2 separate regions of the Homo sapiens genome follow, and region 2 is linked to region 1. Evidence: promoter capture Hi-C in human tissues and cell types (Jung and others, 2019). All regions are on one chromosome and are shown on one strand. The core of a region is centred on a gene start or on the middle of the fragment in contact, and the rest is flanking DNA. Distances in the headings are between cores, read along the strand shown.

What was found. Contacts are between HindIII fragments. The study calls those that stand out against the background at their distance.
Region 2: a contact is called between a fragment that was not itself captured here and the fragment with the promoter of SAP130 in region 1, in 1 of the 25 tissues and cell types used here (spleen).

Annotation. Positions count from the first base shown.
Region 1 is chr2:128,026,641-128,029,605 of GRCh38, reverse strand. It overlaps SAP130 (Sin3A associated protein 130), which reads left to right and starts at 1,547. Exons shown (of 21, transcript NM_001330301.2): 1 at 1,547-1,666. RefSeq lists silencers at 860-1,009, 1,260-1,779, 1,880-2,219, 2,280-2,569. The HindIII fragment of the contact is 22,535 bases long and covers 1-2,965 here.
Region 2 is chr2:128,288,712-128,291,411 of GRCh38, reverse strand. All of the region lies in intron 1 of HS6ST1 (heparan sulfate 6-O-sulfotransferase 1), which reads left to right. Among named protein-coding and RNA genes, the nearest start is that of HS6ST1, 29 kb to the left of the region's middle. The HindIII fragment of the contact is 4,625 bases long and covers 1-2,700 here.

The DNA.
Region 1 (2,965 bases), core at 298-2,797:
CCCAAAGTGCTGGGATTACAGGCATGAGCCACGTGCCTGGCATATATATATGTTTAGTGGGGTGTGGTGGCATGCGCCTGCAGTCCTGGCTACTCAGGAGGCTGAGGCAATAAGTTAGTTGAGACAAGGAAGTCGAGGCTGCAATGAGCTGTGATCACGCCACTGGACTTCAGCTTGGGCTGAACTGAGAACCTGTCTCAAAAAAACAAAAAACAAAAAGGATGACATTTGAAACTGTGGAAATACATTAAACCATTTAGGAAGGCAGTATAGCATTAGCGTGTTGGAGCCCTGAAGAATGCTGTATTTATGAGAAAGAGGAGGTATAATGGAGCTTGACATAGGAGTAGAAGCAGGAGACAGCCTGGTTCTAGAGGCCAAGGGAAGACATGAGGAGGAATTACTACTGGTCAGTAAGCTAAACAAGATGAGATCTAAGTGAGGACCGATGGGTTTGAAGTTGAGTAGGTGTTGGCAACTTTTGGGGAGCAGTCTGAGAAGAGTGGCAACTCCAAAAGGGATAAGGACTGCCTAGGCAGAGAGGAGGCTGAAGTCTATCACAGGAGTCACTCTTTAGAAGTTTGAGAATGAAGGCATGAAGGTGGAAAAGGAAAGTGGCTTGAAGAGGAGGAGTATCTGAGACTCATCCCTGGGCTATAGCCAGGAGCTACTCTCTTCTAACCAAGCAGTTGTCTTACACAGCTGTGCATGATAGGAAGAGGGGGGTTTGAGCCCCATTTATTTCCTAACTAATCACAAAACTCCAGGCCTAAATTACCATCTGGTAAGGGAAGAGGGAGACTTAATCTCTTATCAGACACAAATGTGGCCTCAAAAGATATGGCTAAGTCTTCTACAGGTGCATAAACTCCAACCCTGAACCCCAAGCAAAATGACAAAATAAAACTGCCCCCTTCAGCTCCTTTATAATCCGGAAAGCGCGCGCAGGTGCGCCCCGGCCGCCCAGAGCCCTGCGCCCTGCCGGCCTGCTTTCACAGAGCCGCGCCCGCGCTGCGCCTGGCGGCTCCCGCCGCGCGTAGGCTGTGCCGACCGCGGTTCCCGGTGGGGACACCGAGTCCCACTCGCGGCATAGGGAGGCGGGCACCGTCACGACACTGGCCCGGCCCGCGGATCCCTTGGCCGCCGCAGTTGGCCTCCATTACCCTTTCCCGCGCCGCGCCTCCCCGCGGGGAAAATGAAACCCAGTGCCCTCAGGTTAAGGCATAGGGTGGGATCCACTGTCTTCTCACTTAGCCAAGAGAAAAGGCAGAACCGACTTCAGACAGCAAAGGGGTGTGTTGCCCTGGCCGGGTCGCCTGCGGCCCCGCCCCGGCGCTCTCCACCTCCTTCGCGGCCCGCCCTCCTGACTCCGGCGACTACATTTCCCACAGGACGCCGCGGCTCAGAGGGGCGGGCCCGTCCGCTCTCCCGCTCACGACCACCGGCGACTGGCTGACTCGGCAGGGGGCGGGGCCTGCGCCAGCCAATAGACGGGAGGCTCGTTACGGCGGCGGAAGCAGCGGCGCTGGAGTGAGGGGTGGGGGGCAGAGTGCTAGCTCCCCGGCGGTGGCTGCGGGTCCGGAGCCTGGGGACGTCGGCCCCACAGACGGAGAGCGCGCGGGAGCGAGCTCAAGGCGGCGCGGCGGCCACTGGGCGCAGCACCCAGGTAATGGCGGGACGGGCGCCCGGGAGGGAAGGGGAGGAGACGAGGGGGCGGGGCGGCTGAGCCGGGCTGCAGCGTCCGTCCCGTTGCGCGTCCCCGGGGAAGGGCAGAGGATCCTCGTCTCCTGCGGCTCGGACCGCGGCTCTTTCGCGAGCTGGTCACGGCGGTTGGGCCGGCGACAGGGGCTGGGTGTCCTGTGGCGAGGAAGGGAGAGGCACCGGGAGGGGTGGGCTGACCCGGGCGTGGGGGCGTGGCGGACGTGGGCCTTGGCGGGGAAGCAGAGCGGCCGGGGGAGCGCGGGCGGGCGGGCGGGCGGGCGGCCGGCCCAGGGAGTTTGGCTCCTGGAGCAGTTTAAAGTGACTCTCCACATCCGGGCCCTGCGCCCGCCGCTTTCAGACCCTGGCTGAGGCGGGGCCTCCCCGCTCCCCGCCCCCTTCGCCGGGGGCGCCTGTCTTCCTCTGCCATTGGCTCAGCCTCGAGGGGTTTGGGCTGCCCCGGCCAGGCTCGCGCCTGATTGGCTGGCAGTCGGCGGGAGGGTGGGGCGGGCTCTGAACGTGCAGGTCGCTGTGGATTGGTCCTGGGCCTCCACTGACGCGTCGGGCGTGGGGCCAATGGGCGGGCGGGGGAGGCAGGGGCAGGTTCGGGGGAAGAGGACTGCGAGCACAGCGGCGGCCGGGTGGCGGGGGTGAGTGGGGCCAGCGGGGCTGGACAGCAGCGGGCCCCGGGCGCCGCCGCCGCGATCCCTCCCCGCGCCCGCCGAGCACATCGCCGCCGCCGAGATGGGCCCTCCGCGGCACCCCCAGGCCGGCGAGATAGAAGCGGGCGGTGCGGGCGGCGGGCGGCGGCTACAGGTAAAGAGGCACAGTGCTCGTCTTGTGGTCGGGTCCCCAGATCGCCCGTCCGCACCCCCACCCCGGAGACGGGGGTCTCACACTCCGAGGTGTCTGGAAACCGGCGTCCTCCGGTCTCAGCGGGGGCTTCGCGGTGGGGTGGGGTTGCGGGCGAATCGGGAGATCGCTTGGCTCCTGAGGGAAAAGTGGGGGGCGATTTTAGGGAAGATGGAGAAGGTGTAGGGTCCTCTGGCTCTGTGAGGGGATCTGTGGAAGAGAAGGAAAAGGAAATCCGTAAATGGAGGCCTTTGCCGAAAAGCATTGGAGAATTCCTTTTGCATCGGGTCTGGATGTAAGATATCGGATCTTTTCTTAGGGCTGGATATCTTCCTCCGAATGTTCCTATGACATACTAATCACAGTTCTGTTCACCTTGGTGTGAGATTTGAGTGTTTCAAAGAGACATGCCATT
Region 2 (2,700 bases), core at 76-2,575, 260 kb before region 1:
AGTGCCATGGCCGCCCCAAACCTCCAGGACTCACACCTCACTGAGCGCAAACCCACAGCCTTAACTATGGGGTGCTCTGGACCCAGGGCAAGGGCAGTGGGCAAGAAAAGTAGCCCTCCCCCATGCCGGGACTCCGGCTGTCTGAGAGGGTGTGTGAAGCCCCCAGCCTAGTAATGCCTGCACGGGGTACTCACTAAAGACAAGAAGGACAGGCAAGGGGACTCTACTGGGACAGTTAGGTCCCTAGTTCCTCCTTGTTTTATTGTGTCAGCTGAGATCCCCAGTACATGCAGAATTGCCTTAGAGAGAGTGGACATCTTTGTCTTATTCATGATCTTAGAGGGAATGCATCTGACTCTTCCCCATGGGGACCATGCTTGCTCTAGGTTTTGGGGATACTTTATCAAATTAAGGAACTTTTTTTTTTAATTTGAGACAGTTTCACTCTTTTGCCCAGGCTGGAGTGCTATGACACGATCTCCGCTCACTGCAACCTCCACTTCCTGGGTTCAAGTGATTCTTACGCCTCAGCCTCTTTATAGGTGCGTGCCATCATGCATGCTAAATTTTTTTTTTTTTTTTTTTTTTTTTTTTGTATTTTTAGTAGAGACGGTGTTTCGCCATGTTGGCAAGGCTGGTCTTGAACTCCTGACCTCAAGTCATCCACCTGCCTCAGCCTCCCAAAGTGCTGGGATTACAAGTGTGAGCTACCACGCCTGGCCAAATTAAGGGACTTCTATTCCTAGTTTCCTGAGAGTTTTTATTATGAATAGTGTTTTTAGCAGATGCTTCTTACACATTTACTGAGCTCTGTAGTCTGTTGCTGTGATGAGTCACATGTATGGATTTTCTCCTGTTAAGCCATCCTTGCATACCTGGGGTTACTAAGTATGGTCGTAGTGTAATATCTTTTATATGCTCAATTGGGTTGGATTTGATAAGATTTTTGTTGAGGAATTTTTGTATCTATATTTGAACTCTGAGCTTAGCAGATGTGTCCACCAGGCTGCAATTTTCCTCTCTTGTGCATTTGTCCAACTTCGGTATTAGGATTATGTTGGCCTCATAGAATGAATTGGGAGTGTCCACTGCTTTACTCTTGTCTAGGAGGGTTTGCTTACAAAAATCTGGTTCTTTTAAAATTTGGTAGAAATAGCCCAGCACTTTCTTTGTAGGAATTTTACCCCTAACTTTTTATCTTGAAAAATGTCAAACTTACAAAGTCGTTGAAATGGTAGTAAAGTGAACCTCATACCTTTCACCGAGACCCACTGCTTGTTAACATTTTGCAATATTTGTGCTTGTGAGTGGGTGCTCTCACTTGCTGTTTACATATATGTATATCTGTAGATACATGTGTACTTACATGTATATTTATATATGTAGTTATATACATGCTTTTGCATTTTAGTAGAATCATTTGAATGTAAGCTGCAGGCATTTCCTCAATATTTTAGGAAGATTTTAAACTACTGCTTTGATTTTTGCTTTTTGAGATTATCGGGCTATTTGTGACTTATATTTGGACATTTTATACAAATAATTTGACTGACAGCTATCCTCTCTCTATCTCTTACATGTTCTCCTGGTGCCTCTGGCCTGTGGTTGGTGAAAGCAGGTAGGTCTGTTCCGGCAGCTTCCTCTCTTTCCCTGCCAGCTGGGGTGGGCCCATCCTCATGCCGAGCGTCATGCTGTGACCTCCAGGAGGCATATTGTCTTGTTTTGTGCAAGGAGGAAACAGATGACAGATGCATTCCTTGGGGAACTCGTCAGGGCCACACAGCTGCTGGATGGCAGATCCCTTAGCAAGCTGGAGACCTGTTTTCTGGTGCTGCCAATGGCGCGCCGGGTTCTCCTGGGAGCTTCGTGCTGCTCATCTCAGGGACCGTGCACGTGGGTGAGCAGCAGACATGCCTTGTGGCCTATGAAGTCAGACACCTCTGGTATCTGGGAGACTTTGGCTGCAGAAGGATCTCTGAGTCTCCATTTGCCCATCTGCAGGGGGATCTAATAGTGGCGACCGTACCGGGGTTGCAGGAATAAAATGAGCAAATGCCTGCTGGGCCCTAACCTTTTTTGGAGGCACCAACCACAGAAGTGCTTGATGGGGGGCCATAAAATGGCTGGTTCTGGAGAGTCAGCATTCCCGAGTCCCCAGGGTCACTGCTCAGGTGACAGCTTTCTCAGTGCATCACCCGGAGCTGTCGCCCTCCTTGTAAGTAGAGCCAGGGCCATGGGAGTATAGAGTTGGATACTGCAGTTAGCTTGGGCACAGAATGGCTTATCTCTGGGGTGGGCTGTTTAGGCTCTGAATTTCCCTGTCTGGGGAAGAATAGTCTACATTCAAGAGCATGCAAGGCCATCTCTCCGCGGCCGCCTCTGTGTTTATATGGACTCGGGGGTTGAGGGAGCAGGTGTCAGCCCCTCTTCGCTGCAGAGAGGCTCTGTGGGGTCGTGGGTGAGAACCAGGACTTTGCCTCGGACCCTGACATGAGTTGCTGTGGGGTCAGCAGGAGGTGGAGCCTGGAGGGGTCCCAGGGACACCCCCAGTGATCCTCAGATGAGCTCTCGCCCTCCTGACCCCGAGAAAGGCTGATTACTGGTGATGATCCTGTGGCTTTGGAGATGTCCTGAGAGGCTGCTGGGGAGGCCCTGAGCCTCCCAGGCCTCCCTGACTCTCCTACCTCCTGTGAGAAAGTC